Linked DNA regions of Homo sapiens: regions 1, 2, 3 and 4 are each linked to region 5. Evidence: promoter capture Hi-C in human tissues and cell types (Jung and others, 2019). All regions are on one chromosome and are shown on one strand. Each heading gives the region's core, a stretch centred on a gene start or on the middle of the fragment in contact. The rest is flanking DNA. Distances are from core to core; before and after follow the strand shown. Region 1 holds the start of MVD (mevalonate diphosphate decarboxylase). Region 2 holds the start of CBFA2T3 (CBFA2/RUNX1 partner transcriptional co-repressor 3). Region 3 holds the start of APRT (adenine phosphoribosyltransferase). Region 4 holds the start of PIEZO1 (piezo type mechanosensitive ion channel component 1 (Er blood group)). Region 5 holds the start of RPL13 (ribosomal protein L13).

The links. Contacts are between HindIII fragments. The study calls those that stand out against the background at their distance.
Region 1: the fragment with the promoter of MVD here is called in contact with the fragment with the promoter of RPL13 in region 5 in 2 of the 25 tissues and cell types used here (adrenal gland and lymphoblastoid cells).
Region 2: a contact is called between the fragment with the promoter of CBFA2T3 here and the fragment with the promoter of RPL13 in region 5, in 2 of the 25 tissues and cell types used here (hippocampus and lymphoblastoid cells).
Region 3: the fragment with the promoter of APRT here is called in contact with the fragment with the promoter of RPL13 in region 5 in 1 of the 25 tissues and cell types used here (spleen).
Region 4: a contact is called between the fragment with the promoter of PIEZO1 here and the fragment with the promoter of RPL13 in region 5, in 3 of the 25 tissues and cell types used here (dorsolateral prefrontal cortex, lymphoblastoid cells and spleen).

What each region holds. Positions count from the first base shown.
Region 1 is chr16:88,661,660-88,664,359 of GRCh38, reverse strand. MVD (mevalonate diphosphate decarboxylase) reads left to right here and starts at 1,269. Exons shown (of 10, transcript NM_002461.3): 1 at 1,269-1,349. The coding sequence starts at 1,280. SNAI3-AS1 (SNAI3 antisense RNA 1) reads right to left here and starts at 987. Exons shown (of 4, transcript NR_024399.1): 1 at 960-987. RefSeq lists silencers at 605-764, 1,105-1,524 and an enhancer at 975-1,024. The HindIII fragment of the contact is 7,255 bases long and covers 1-2,700 here.
Region 2 is chr16:88,975,818-88,978,542 of GRCh38, reverse strand. It overlaps CBFA2T3 (CBFA2/RUNX1 partner transcriptional co-repressor 3), which reads left to right and starts at 1,336. Exons shown (of 12, transcript NM_005187.6): 1 at 1,336-1,886. The coding sequence starts at 1,736. RefSeq lists enhancers at 915-964, 2,667-2,725. The HindIII fragment of the contact is 13,654 bases long and covers 1-2,725 here.
Region 3 is chr16:88,810,678-88,813,377 of GRCh38, reverse strand. APRT (adenine phosphoribosyltransferase) reads left to right here and starts at 1,450. Exons shown (of 5, transcript NM_000485.3): 1 at 1,450-1,558; 2 at 1,722-1,828. The coding sequence starts at 1,479. RefSeq lists enhancers at 1-390, 391-1,075, 2,581-2,700 and silencers at 788-1,047, 1,298-1,697. The HindIII fragment of the contact is 27,772 bases long and covers 1-2,700 here.
Region 4 is chr16:88,783,930-88,786,629 of GRCh38, reverse strand. It overlaps PIEZO1 (piezo type mechanosensitive ion channel component 1 (Er blood group)), which reads left to right and starts at 1,410. Exons shown (of 51, transcript NM_001142864.4): 1 at 1,410-1,729. The coding sequence starts at 1,666. RefSeq lists silencers at 912-1,241, 1,282-1,761, 2,262-2,581 and an enhancer at 1,266-2,179. The HindIII fragment of the contact is 3,328 bases long and covers 1,217-2,700 here.
Region 5 is chr16:89,559,232-89,561,931 of GRCh38, reverse strand. It overlaps RPL13 (ribosomal protein L13), which reads right to left and starts at 1,250. Exons shown (of 6, transcript NM_000977.4): 1 at 1,220-1,250; 2 at 869-992; 3 at 564-705; 4 at 181-354. The coding sequence starts at 972. It overlaps SNORD68 (small nucleolar RNA, C/D box 68), which reads right to left and starts at 502; the gene lies at 431-502. RefSeq lists silencers at 668-717, 778-1,047, 2,589-2,700 and an enhancer at 1,158-1,267. The HindIII fragment of the contact is 11,945 bases long and covers 1-2,700 here.

The DNA of each region.
Region 1 (2,700 bases), core at 20-2,519, 900 kb after region 5:
ATCCGCCCACCTCGGCCTCCCAAAGTGCTGGGATTACAGGTGTGAGCCACCATGCCCAGCCAATCTGAGCTATTTAAAAACTAAAGGTAAAATTTTAAAAGGGGAAGGGGAAAATGGGAAGTCATTGTTTTAAGGGGACAGAGTTTCTGTTTGGGGTGAGAAAACTCTAGAAATAGTGGGGGCGTGGCACATGATTGGAATGAATGGCAGGGAACGGCACGCTTAAATGTTCCTGTACGTTTCACAGGAGAAGTCAATGCACACACAAGCGCCGCAACCCAGTCCAAGGCTTTGCTCCTACAGGGCCTTACAGGGGGTATTTGAGACGCCCACCTTAATGCAGGTTGGACCCAGCTCCGGGCTGCGGGGCTTCCCCGCCCCGGGGTCTTTCGTGTGAGCCCCGTGGCGGGGGATCCTGGCCCAGGACATGGCGCGGAGAAGGCTGTGGGCGGCGGGACAGGGTGCCTTCGGCTGCCGGGTTAAGAGTGGATCCCGGGATACATCCTCCAGCGCCTGCCCTCGGGCCTGTGTGCACCCCCATACCCAGCGGGGCCGTCCAAGAGCTTCAAGGAGGGCACAGCGCGACCCGCCCTCCCCTCAGCCCCGCACACCGTCCCACGGCCCCGCACAGCCTCCCTCCCACACAGCGCCCCACGGCACCCGCACAGCGCCCCACGGCCCCTTCATGGTCCCCGCACAGCGCCTCACAACCCGCACACAGCGCCTCACGGACCCTTTACGGCCCCCGCAGAGTCTCCCACACGGCGCCCCACACAGAGCCTCACGGACCCCGCACAGCGCCTCAAGGTCTCCGCACAGCCCCCAGCACAGCGCCTCACACAGCCCTTCGCACAGCCCCCCGCACAGCTCCTCACGGGCCCCACACAGCTGCCGCACAGCCCCGCACAAGCCCGCACAGCACCAGCAGACAGGTAGCCCCCACAGGCAACAGCGCCCACCTCGCCGCGCCCAGACCCCGGATCGCCGACGCGGACGCCAGGCGCCTGGGCACACGGCGCCTGCGCAGACAACACCACGCCCCAGGCCTGGCGAGCGCACCCTGCGGGTGGGGCGGACCTACGTCAGCAACCCATCGTCCGATCCCGTCCATTGGCTGAGAGGTAATGCGTGCGCCCGACTCGCCGCTGATTGGTCGGCGCGCGAGCAGCCGGGCTCGCACGGGCCAATCCTGTGGTAGCGCGTGAGGAGGCAGAGGCCTCTGGGGTGGGATCGCGGGCCGTAAGTGGCTGTGGAGCTGGGGTCACTGCGCGGTGGGACCATGGCCTCGGAGAAGCCGCTGGCGGCAGTCACTTGTACAGCGCCGGTCAACATCGCGGTCATCAAGTACTGTGAGTGCCGCGGGCCGGCCTGGGACGGGGATGGCCGGGAGCGAGGCCGGGTACGCGGGGGTCGCGCGCTGATTCGGCGGCGCGCTCCGTCCTGCCCTCCCAGGGCCTCGACAGACGGGGAAACTGAGGCTCAGGGAGGGGCGCGGCGGTGGTCGGGCGGGGCCGCGCGCTCCTTCGCGTGACAAGCTCGGCGCCACCCGTTCCCCCGCGACGGCTGCCGCCCCTGCAGGGTCGCCCGGCGCCTGCCCATTAGCGATTACCGAACTATCGAAATCATCAATCATCGATTCCCATGAATCGTAAGAATCCGCCGTGGTGGTGCGCGTTTGTGGCTCCAGCTACTCGGGAGGCTGAGGCGGGAGGATGGCCAGAGCCCGGGAGGTCGAGGCTGCAGTGAGCGGAAATCGCGCCACTGCTCCCCCAGCCCGAGACCCTGTGTCCCTCCCTCGCCCCGTTTCTCCCAGCGGTAACCTCCAAGGAGCGGTAATGGGGGGCCCGCAGGCCCACATCCGTGCCGGGGAGGCCGGTCCGCACCTGTGCGTTCACAGCCCCGCCCCTCCCCTCGCGCCGGGGTTACCTGGCCGCCACTGACCACTCATTTCTGTAACGTCATTTCAAAATGTTCTGAAACTGGAATCGCAGTTATGTGGCCCACCCAGTATCTTTTGAGTTTGGCTTATTTCATTCAGCATAGAATGTGGACGTGCCCCGGGATTGTATCAGTGCTTTGCCCCTCTGTTGCTGAGCCAGTCCGTGGAATCCATGGACCACCCTCTCTCTAGCCAAGGCCTCACCCCGCAAAGAGCATCTAACGTTTTCTTTCTTTCTTTCTTTTCTTTCCAGAAGCCGCCACCACGACTGGCTAATTTTTTTGTGTTTCCCTTACCAATAAAGCTGCCATAAAATGTTGTATACAGGTTTTTGTGTGAACATACATTTCCATTCTTCTGGGATAAATGCCCAGGAGTGCGGTTGCTGGGTCAGATGGTAGATATATATATATGCCTCTCTGTCTCTCTCTCTCTTTCTATGTATATATGTATGTTTGTGTGTGTGTATATATATATACACCTGTATAGATATATGTGTGTGTATATGTATACACCTATATAGATGTATGTGTGTGTATATATACATATATATATTATATATATACTTTTTTTTTTTAAAGAAACTGTCTAATTGTTTTTCAGAGTGGCTGGGCCATTTTGCATCCCTACGGTGATGCAGATTTTCCGCATCCTCACCAGCATTTGGTGGAGTTGCTGTTTTTCATTTTAGCCGCGTCCTGGTAGGGATGTGCTGGCAGGGTGCTGTGGTCCTCATTCGCGTTTCCCTGTTGGCCAGTGAC
Region 2 (2,725 bases), core at 87-2,586, 580 kb after region 5:
CCCCAGGACCCTCACTGTGAATCCCACCCTGAGCCAGAGCACAGGGAACAGCAGGGGACGTGGGGACCGAATGATGGCACCAGGGGATGGGCCCCGGGCTGGCAGGAATGTCCCCTCCAGCCTCAGTCCTGGGGGCAGAACGGCCGACCACCCAGGGCAGGGGAGGCCCCGGGTGGGCCTGGCGTCTGGGAAGTTCCCCAGCAGGAACAAACACATCCCCACTGTAAGCTGGACACACACGCTGGCATGCAGCTTGTTGTCACCAACTCGAGAAAGACACTCGACTATTGGGACAGGGAGACCCGGGACACCTGGAGACCCTGCGGGGAAGGAGTCGGCTTTTACTCCTGCACGGCTTGAATTATTAACTGCGTGCAAACGTGACCTAAAACTCAAATCAAATCAAATCAAAATAGCACAGATGCCCGTGAGCCGGCCCTGGGTCTGCGGGCTCCACACCTCTGGCCTGTCTGAGGCCGGGAAACCTCCAGCCATGGCATCAGAAAAGCCACCGAACCAGGGCTGCAGGGCCGAAGGGTCACTGTCCCCTCCCAGGAAGCTCCTGCCCTCTGACAGTTGTCAGGGAGCTTTAGAAAGTGGCTTTTTTTCCCAGCATCTGGGATGTGCCTCACTCTCTCAGCCCAACGGCCGCTAGAAAGGGGTCCTAGGACTCTCCCTAGGGTCTAAGTAGTCCCAAGAGTGCTCTGAGGTGGCTTCTGGAATTTCCCAGACTGGAGAAGCCACCTACCCCCGACCCCCGCAAACTCCAGGCTGCTCACCGGAGGCGGCCGCTGGGGCGTGGGGTGAGGGTCTTTCTGAGGCACCCCCGGAGAGTGGGGGAGCCCTGCTGTCTCCACAGAGGGCCAGGAGCCCTGTGCACGAGGCCAAGCAGAGAGAGAGGGTTTCCTTCCCAGCAGGCGGGAGGTACTTTGAGGACAGGTCAGGTGCCCAAGAACCCCGGAGCAGGGGCTGAGGAGAGGCTGGTCAGAGGCCCCGCCTTGCTCAAGGGCACAGTCAGCAGACACAGGAACACGGGCAGGGTGGCCCCTGGAGCGGGGGCAAACTAAAAGGGGTGCTGGGGAAAGCTCGGCTGACTGAGGGCTAGCGGAGAGGGAGGACACCCCCAGATACCCCAGGCTGAAGGAAGGGCCAAGCCCTGGGGGGAAGATGGGTGGGCGGGACAGGCCAAGGGCTCTGGGCCAGGATGGAGCTGCCCTCAGGCCTGCACACCTGCCCTGGGGCCGAGGAAACACATGCCCAGTGGCCACGCTGTAGGGCTCAGGGTGGGTGGGACGTCACCAGAGCTGCCTGGGAGGAGGAAGTTGTTGGAAGGTCAAACCGGAATGGCCCGAGGGAAGGCCGCGCAGGGCAGGGCCCCAGATGGTTCCTGTCAGGGAAGTGGCGGGCGCAGCTGCAGGCCTCCGGCCCCGGCATTATCACGGGGACACAGCTGGCTGCCTCACCCGCAGGCTGCAGGGAGACCTTCCCCAGCCTGCAGCCCCAGGCCCGCCCCGCGTCACATGAGCCCCAGGGCTCCCACCCCCTCCCCAGGGCAGAGGACACCCAGTTGGTGGCCGGGAGGGCCTCGGCTTTCCAGGGACAGAGGCCCAACTCCAGGACGCCCCAGCTGGCCCAGCCCCTCCTCTTTCCCTCAAGGCTGCAGGAGGTCGGGAAAGGCAGTCCTGGTAGAGGCCTGTCCTGGGCTCCAGGTTGGCCCCTGAGGGTGGCCCTCCTCATGCCGGCTTCAAGACTGAGGGACAGGGCAGCCAGTTCAGCCTCGGGATCCACCTGTGGCTCCATGTCCCAGACGCACCCTGTGCTGGAGAGCGGCCTCCTGGCATCTGCCGGCTGCTCCGCACCCCGGGGTCCCAGGAAGGGCGGCCCAGGTAAGAGGCTCGAGGGGAAGGTGGTGGGGTGGGGGCAGAGAGCGGCAGCCGGTGCCGGGGCTGTGACTCCTTAGAGCTTCGCGGGGCCTGCCCAGCTTAGTTGACAGTGCCGGCACGGATGGCCGTGTTGACTCACCTCAGATATCAACAGGGCCACCCCACAGGCAGGTCCTGCACAGCTGGGGCAGGTGGGCTGGTGAGGGTTTGGCAGGTGCCAGCCAGGTGCCCCAGCCCCACCCAGAGGCAGATGCTGGAGGCCGGGCTGCTCAGCCCCGTCTAGGAGGGTGGGCTGTGTTCTCCTGGGGGTGGGAGGGCCGCAGCCGGGAAGTGATGGGGGGGTCCTAGAAAGAGAGCCCTCCTCCTCCTGGGATGCCCTCCGGGTGTGACACCTCACAGCAGGTTGGATGAGGAAACTGAGGCCAGAGGGGAGGGCACTGGCCCAAGACCCCGGTGAGGAGGAAATGGACCCAACCCTGGGCCCCTGTCCGAGGAACGATTCCAGCCAGGGCAGTGGGGGTTTACGGGGAACCTGGGCCTGCCCTTCTGGGGGCTTCGGGCTCTGGGGAGGGGTCCAGTCCAGCAGGACGCCAGCTATTGCTGATACCCCCCACCCGAGCCTGCGAAGTCCCAGGACAAGGATCCCCGGACGCTGGGGGCTGCAGCTGCAGGCTGGTGGCCCCGATTCCCAGTGGCCCTCGTGGCCACACTCCCAGCAGCCGTCGGAACCTTCAGGAGCTCACAGTCTCCCGTCTCGCGGGGCTCTCACTGAGGCCGTCAGGTCCAAGGTCTGACTGCACCCCTGACACTCACACACAGAACCCGGGACCGAGGGGTGTCCC
Region 3 (2,700 bases), core at 201-2,700, 750 kb after region 5:
GGCTGAAGTGTAGCTCACACACTTGGACCGGTGGGGCCGGCTCATGTGGCAGCTTCCCCGGGGACGTGAGGATGTCAGGGTCCTCCATTTCCACCTTCCCTAGGGGTCTGGAGCCCAGGCCCCAGGCCTTGCCAGCCCTGACCACCGCACACTGCGAGGCAGCCGCCCCTACCACGCCCCTTGGCATCAGACGATGGGTCCCCCACCCGCCCTGGAACCGGGGCCCCAGCAGCCGCATGCAGCCTCCGGCCTCCCCCTCCGAAGGCTCCTGGGGGCTGCCTTCCACTGAGTGGGTTTTCCCTTCTGCAGTAACTGCCAGGCCAAAGCTGAATTGTAAAAGTTGCGAAATGATGGGCCGGGCGCGGTGGCTCACGCCTGTAATCCCGGCACTTTGGGAGGCCGAAGCGGGCAGATCACGGGGTCAGGAGATCGAGACCATCCTGGCTAACACAGTGAAACTGCGTCTCTACTAAAAATACAAAAAATTAGCAGGGCGTGGTGGCGGGCTCCTGTAGTCCCAGCTACTCGGGAGGCTGAGGCGGGAGAATGGCCGGAACCCAGGAGGTGGAGCTTGCAGTGAGCCCAGATGGCGCCACTGTGCTCCATCCTGGGCGACAGAGCGAGAGTCCTTCTCAAAAAAAAGTTGCGAAATGAAGAAAAGTCTTGGAATAGAGCACAAGGCATTTTAGCTCTGGGGATTTTCTTGAAAGGAAATTGTGTTTGGGGGGAGTTATGCCTCACACAACCCCCTGGGTACCAGTCCTCGGGCGGCCAGGGGGTTCACAGCTCCCCACCCCAAGGCTAAGGGGTCACCTGGCCTCTGCAGGCGGACAGAAGGGCTTCTGCCCTCGCGGATGCGCGCCCTGGCCTGGCCACACCTTCCGGCCTCCCTCCCCCGGGTCCGGGCGGGGAAGAGCCGCCTCAACGGCAGGGCCCATCCGCGAGAGGCCAGCGCCCCCGGCCGGTCCAGCCCAGGCCCGCCGCCTCCGCCCTGGGCTGCTCCCTCCGGGCCCTGCACCGCCCTCCTGCTACTTGGACCGCTTCCTCACGCCCTTCTCCACCCCGCGCGCCAGCCTCCCGCGCGCAGCGTGGGGATCTCGGCCAATAAAGGAGAAAGGGCGCGGCCCGTACGCGCGCCAGGTGCGTGGGCGAGACCAGCTCACGCCCCTCCTCCAGCCGCCAAGGCCCCGGCCCACAGCTGCCTGGCTGCAGTCAGAAGCGTAGCCCGAGACAAGGAAGGGCGCCTTGACTCGCACTTTTGTCCGGTTCGAACGTTCTGCTCAGTGGTGCGTGGAATGCGAGCGCGTCTTAAAATCGATGGCGCCTAGGAGTCCATGAAATACGGTACAGGCTTCCGGCGACGGATGCCCCGCCCCTCACCCACGCTCCGCCCTCCGGGGATGCCCCACCCCTCGTGGCGGTCCCGCCCGTCCCCGCGCAGGCGCGCTCGGGCTGCCGCTGGCTCTTCGCACGCGGCCATGGCCGACTCCGAGCTGCAGCTGGTTGAGCAGCGGATCCGCAGCTTCCCCGACTTCCCCACCCCAGGCGTGGTATTCAGGTGCACGCACAGGCCGCCCTCGTGGCGCCCCGACCTGCGGGCCTACGGATGGGAGCGCGTGGCCCGCGACCTCCGGGCGGGCGGGGCGGGAACCCTCGTCTTTCGCCCCCGGGGCCCTGCCCTCCTTCGGCCCCGGCGTCACCAGGCCTGTCCTTGGGTCCAGGGACATCTCGCCCGTCCTGAAGGACCCCGCCTCCTTCCGCGCCGCCATCGGCCTCCTGGCGCGACACCTGAAGGCGACCCACGGGGGCCGCATCGACTACATCGCAGGCGAGTGCCCAGTGGCCGCATCTAGGGCGCTTCCGCCTCTGCGCGCGCCGAGGGCAGCACGTGGGCTCTGCGCGTCTGCTTGGGGGAGGGCCTTTGGGGTGCTTCAGGGGGCGCCGGGACGGGCGCCGTGCTTGGGTCGCCCGGGAAGGGTTGTGAGATTGAGCCCCCGAGGCCGCCGCGCTGTGCAGGCGTCCTTCCCGCAGGTTCCGGGTCCCCAGCCCAGGACAGGCGTGACCGAGTTGCCGGGTCAGTTGGTCTCCCTGGAGTGCCCAAGCTGAATCCACAGGGCCCAGCTGCCTTGCTTCTTGTTCCTTCTGCGAGCTGGTATTGAGCGCCTGCCACGAGCCAGGCCTTCCCTGGTGAAGATCACGGAATGCCCACCCAGGGAAGGGAGGCCTGGAGGCCTCCGGGAGAGCCCAAGAGGTGGCCCAGGGAGAACAGAGTGTTCCTGGCCGTCTTGCCTCTCCTAGGGTGTGACAGCCCACTCCCTGGACACTGCCCTGAGGAAAGCGCCAGCTCTTGCTGGAGCCACAACACTGCCAGAGCTCCCTTCTCACCTCCTGCAGGAAGCCCTCCCTGACCTCCTGCCAGGCCGGGGCAGGGTTTCCCTGAGCGTCCCCCAACCATCACAGCTCAGGCCACCTCGAGAGACTCCCTTTTTAGACAGAAGCCCTGGTGCAGAGCTGCCTTTGAGAGTAAGCTGAGGCCTGTCAGGTTTCTACCAGCCCAGTTACAGATGGGCTGCTCAGCTCAGAGAGAGGGGTGGTGACTCCCCTAGGAACACACAGCTAAGAAGTGGTCCCTTAAAAGACAGACCCAGGTCTGCACTCTGACCTGGAAGCAGCTCCGGGTAGGTGATGGGTAACATTCCT
Region 4 (2,700 bases), core at 161-2,660, 780 kb after region 5:
CACGCCCGGCTAATTTTTGTATATTTATTTATTTATTTATTTATTTATTTATTTATTTATTGAGACGGAGTCTGGCTCTGTCGCCCAGGCTGGAGTGCAGTGGCGCTATCTCGGCTCACTGCAAGCTCCGCCTCCTGGGTTGATGCCATTCTCCTGCCTCAGCCTCCCGAGTAGTTGGGACTACAGGAGCCCGCCACCACGCCCGGCTAATTTTTTATGTTTTTAGTAGAGATGGGTTTTCACCGTGTTAGCCAGGATGGTCTCGATCTCCTGACCTGGTGATCCACCCGCCTCGGCCTCCCAAAGTGCTGGGATTACAGGCGTGAGCCACCGCGCCCGGCCTAATTTTTGTATTTTTAGTAGAGACGGGGTTTCACCATGTTGGCCAGGCTGGTCTCGAACTCCTGACGTCAAGTGATCCCCCGACCCCCTACCCCCTTGCCTCAGCCCCGCAAAGTGCTGGGATTACAGGCCTGAGCCACTGCCCCGCCATCTTTTTTTTTTTTTTTTTTTTTTGAGCTGGAGGGTGTGGGCTTGTGCTGGGCTCTCATGAGTTGCCAGTGCCTTGAGGCTCAGTGGCCACAGTCCCCCCAGCCCCACTCCCTGCCTTACGCAGCTGAGTTTGAGAGCCATGAACTGAGCCCAATTAAACGGTGTAGAGCCCTTTGCCCTCTTTCTGTGCCCATCTCAAGGGCAGACGAAGGCCAAACTGACGTGGCCTGGGTGAGGGTCCCGAACACCCTGGACTCAGACCCTACCTCTCCGTGGCAGGGCGCCGCGGCAGCAGGTGCACAGGCCGTGGCTCTCACTCTCACCGTCTCACGCCAGAGCGACCCGGGCAAAGCCGCGCGCGGTGGCCGGCGTGGCTGGGAGCAGCCCCCGAGCCCCCGTCAGACCAACGCGGATCGCGGCACTGCTGCGACCCGAGCATCCCGCGTGCTCCCTCCGGGACCACTAGGCCCGGCCGCCGCGGGAACTCCGAGCCTCCCCACGGTCCCCAGGGGGCGCTGCGTGCTCGCGCCTCGGGGAGCAAAGCGAAAGTCGCTCGGGCACGCGGGGTGCAGTTGCGCGTGGGGCGCTGCCTGGGGGAGCCAGAGGCCCCGGGACCCCTTATGTAGCGCCCGGGCCCCAGCCGCAGCCCACCCAGCGAGAAGCGCCCCTGCCCACCGCCGCGCACGCTCGGAGCCGCGGGGCCAAGACTGCGGGAGGGGAGGGGTCCGCTCCGGGCCAGCGCCAGTCGGGGGTCTCCAGGCCCCAACGCACCAGGGCGGGCCGGAGGCGGGACGGGCCGCGCGGGACAGCGGAGGGGGTGCCTGGGCGCGCCGGGCCGTCGGGGAAGCGCGGAGGCGGGCACGCCGGGGAGGGCGGGAGGGGGCCGAGCTTATAAAGGCCCGCGGGCGGAGGAGGGCGGGAGCCGCCGTCCGGCCCAGCTCGGCCCCAGTGAGCCGAGCGCTGCGCTCCGCCGAGGGGCAGGGCGGTCGCCTGAGCGAGCGCGGGCCCGGGACGTCGGCACCGGCGGGGCGGCCGAAGGAGAAGGAGGAAGAGGAGAAGGCGGCGCGCGGGTCCCCGCGGGTCAGCCATGGCGCGCCGGCCCCGGGGCCCCCGCACCGCCCCATAGCGCCGCGGCGTCCGCTCGGTCTGGGCCGGGCCCTGGGCCCTCCAGCCATGGAGCCGCACGTGCTCGGCGCGGTCCTGTACTGGCTGCTGCTGCCCTGCGCGCTGCTGGCTGGTGAGTGGGGGGCGGGCGCCTGGGGGCGACGGGAGGGGGCTGCGTCTCGGCTCCCCACGGCCTGGACACCGGACGACGCCGGCCGGGGCGAGGGCTGCGGGCGAGCGGGCGCGGAAATTCCCAGGGACGCGCGACCCGGGCGCCCGCATTCCTGAAGCATGAGCGCGCCAGGCGGCGGCGGGGCTCCTGTCCCAGGGCCGGGCTGGAAGGGCGGCGGCGGCTGGGGGAGACGGCACCGCGTGCCCACGGGGGCGGTCGAGCGAGCGCCGGGCATAGCGCGGCTGGCGTCTCCGCCGGGGCGCTGCGGAGAGGAGGCCGCCGGGCGAGGCGGTGTTTGCCCCGGTGGGAAGGGCCGCGGCGGTGGTGGGGGGAGCACGAATCTCTTTTTCTCTTTCGGGTTTAAAAAAAAAAGCGCAAAGTTGCATCAGGACTTCCTGACAATCTGGGAGAAGGCGGGCTTCCTGCCTGGAGCTGTTTAATTTGGAGCTTCCCGAGCCCAACGAACGTCCGTGCCCAGGGCCCAGCCCCGCTCACCGCTGCACCCCCCTCTGCCGGACTGAGGCGGTCCCACACTTTGGAAAAAAATAGTGTGGGTTCCTCCCTGGTCCTCCCTTGCCCTACTGGGCTCAGTTTCGCAGGGGCGGGGGCCGGCCTCTGCCCTGGTCTGGGGGAGGGGACACCCCCGGAGGCTGTGGCCTGGTGTCAGGGCGGGGCAGGGGTCCCCAGTCCTGGCATCTGTGTTCCCTGCTTGCCGGGCAGTGGTGCCCCTTTCGCGAAGCACACCCGGGTGGCTTGGTGCTGCACGGCCTGGCACCCCTACCCTTCCCCGACCCTGGCCTAGCCGGGACCCAGGGTCCGCGCCCTCCGCCCGGGGGCTCCCCACGTGTGATTGATCTGGGAAGCAGTCGGATGGAATTAACCCACGGACAAGTGGGACGGTTTGCATTGGGAGTCCGCCATGGACACGGCAG
Region 5 (2,700 bases), core at 1-2,500:
GTCCATTAAGGTTATCTCTGCGGAAACGCACAGGTGAACCTTAGCAGTCCCGCTTAGCTCATCACCCACAATGTTTTGGTTCTTCTCACCCCAGCAAGACCCAGGGACCGGTGTCACTGATAAAGGAGCCAAGCCTCACTGTCCCCGCGCACCAGGACGGCCAGAGAGCCGTGTACTCACAGAACTGTCTCCCTTCTTGGGGGCCGAGGGCTTCCTGGGGAAGAGGATGAGTTTGGAGCGGTACTCCTTCAGCCGCTGCACGTTGGCCTGCAGGGACTCCGTGGACTTGTTCCGCCTCCTCGGATCCACAGAAATGCCGATGGTCCGGGCCACCTTCTTGTGAATGCCGGCCACCTGCCCCAGAACCAGAGAGAGATGGAGACAGGCCCGGGCTTTCTCCAGCCCCGAGGCCTGGATGAAAAGCCTCAGCAATCAGATGGAAAAGGGTTCAAATGTGCTTTCATCAAGGCCGTACAGCGATTCCGGAGAATGTCATCACGCGACTGAGGCCAACAGAGGGGACTTCGGGGCCTTCCTGACACCGCAGCGCTGCCAGTACTCACCCTGAGCTCCTCCAGGCTGAAGCCGCGGCCGGCGCGCACCTTCGTGTGGTACCGAACCGTGGGGCAGCGCACGATGGGCCGGATGGGACCCGACGCGGGGCGCGGGGCGATGCGGCGCGCCTTGGCTTGCCGGGCCTTACGTCTGGTGGAGAGAAGCGCAGCGGCGGTCACCCTTGCCTAAGGCCGCCAGGCCAGCGCTCCGCGACGGTTGCAGACAGCGCCCCCCGCCCTGGCATCGGCCACCCGCAAGCCAAGGCGCAGCCGCGGGCACGAGCCCCAGGGGCAGCCCCGAGCGCAGGGCTCACCTGCGGATCTTACGGGCCGGCTGGTTGAACCACGTGGCCACGCGCCGCTGCCAGTCCTTGTGGAAGTGGGGCTTCAAGACCATGCCATTCCGGCTGGGCGCCATGGCTGCCTACGGCCCTGCGGCTGCGGACGAGAGGGGAGCGAGTGAGAGGCCGGACCCCGGGCGCGCGCACCCCCCCGGGCCTCCGCCCCGAACCCTCCAGACTGGGCCGTCCGGCCGCGCCTAGAGCCCGGGCAGCGGCCGAACGCTGTCTGCGAAGAAGAAGGGGCCCATCCACTCCCGCGTTGGCTGAAGCGCCAGGCCGATGGCGCTGGATGATGCCCAAAGGCCAGGACCCAGTCTCCCTCACCTCCTGCGCAGGAAAACAGCCGAGCGGAAAGGAAGCGGCCCCGCAATGCACTCTGGGATGATAGCAGGGCCGGCCAACCAGAAGCGCCGGGCGCTCTGACCAATCAGAGCCCCGAAAGGAGGAACTGACGTCGCCGCGGCTCTCCCGGCAGCCCTAGGGCCGCCGTCGCAGACATGTTGCCGCTGAGAATGCGGCGGGGCGGCCGTGATTCCTGGGCCCTGAGTAACCGACGGCCGGACTTGCTTGACGTCCGCCGTTACTGCCCCGGCGCTTCAGCCGCTGCGCGGGCCGCGGCCGAGTCCTGTCTTGCGGGCTAACGCGCGCGAGTCCGGTATCTGGGCCGACGGCGAACGGGCGACGCCCGAGGAATTCTGTTTGTTCACATTTGTGAGACACGTTTGCAGCGCAAAGGCAGAAAAACTTCAGTGACATCCGAGTTTGCGCAACCTAAGGCCTTCGTCCTTGTCGTTCCAGCGTTTATTCTCCTCCCATCCATTTAGAACATTTGTGGTTTTTTTTTTTGTTTTTTTTTTTTGGAGACGGAGTCTCGCTCCGTCGCCCAGGCTGGAGTGCAATGGCGCGATCTCGGCTCACTGCAGCCTCCGCGTCCCAGGTTCAAGCAATTCTGCCTCAGCCTCCCGAGTAGCTGGGATTACAGGCGCCCGCCGCCACACCCTGCTAATTTTTGGTATTTTAGTAGACGGAGTTACTGTTGGCCTCTGTCGCTTTCCCTTGGCCCAGGATTAGGTGACTTCTCTAAGGTCAGGGGTACCCGACTGAAAATGTCACACTCTGACCTGCTGTGCCTACTGCCTTCCTTCACAAAGAAAAGCATCAACAAAAAGCCATCTCTTCTCTAGTATAAGTCTGTGAAGGCACCATCCATCTTACTGCTACCTGGAAACCTTTAAATCCCAATAACCCTCTTTCTTCCCTACCCTCACCCAATCACCACGCTTCCTCCTGGTAAAACTTATTATTATTTTTTTTTTTTGAGACGGAGTCTCCCTCTGTTGCCCAGGCTGGAGTTCAGTGGTGCGATCTCTGTTCACTGCAAGTTCTGCCTCCCGGGTTCACGCCATTCTCCTGCCTCTGCCTCCCAAGTAGCTGGGACTACAGGCGCCCACCATCACGCCCAGCTGATTTTTTGTATTTTTAGTACAGACGGGGTTTCACTGTGTTAGCCAGGATGGTCTCGATCTCCTGACCTCGCGATCCGCCCGCCTGGGCCTCCCAAAGTGCTGGGATTACAGGCGTGAGCCACCGTGCCTGGCCAACGTAATCCACATTTTAAGAATTTCACAGTTCCAGCACTTTGGGAGGCTGAGGTGGGCGGATCAGCCGAGGTCAAGAGTTTGAGATCACCCTGGCTAAGATGGTGAAACCCTGTCTCTACTAAAAATACAAAAAAGCTGGGCGTGGTGGCGCATGCCTGTAATCCTAGCTACTTAGGAGGCTGAGTCACCAGAATTGCTTGAACT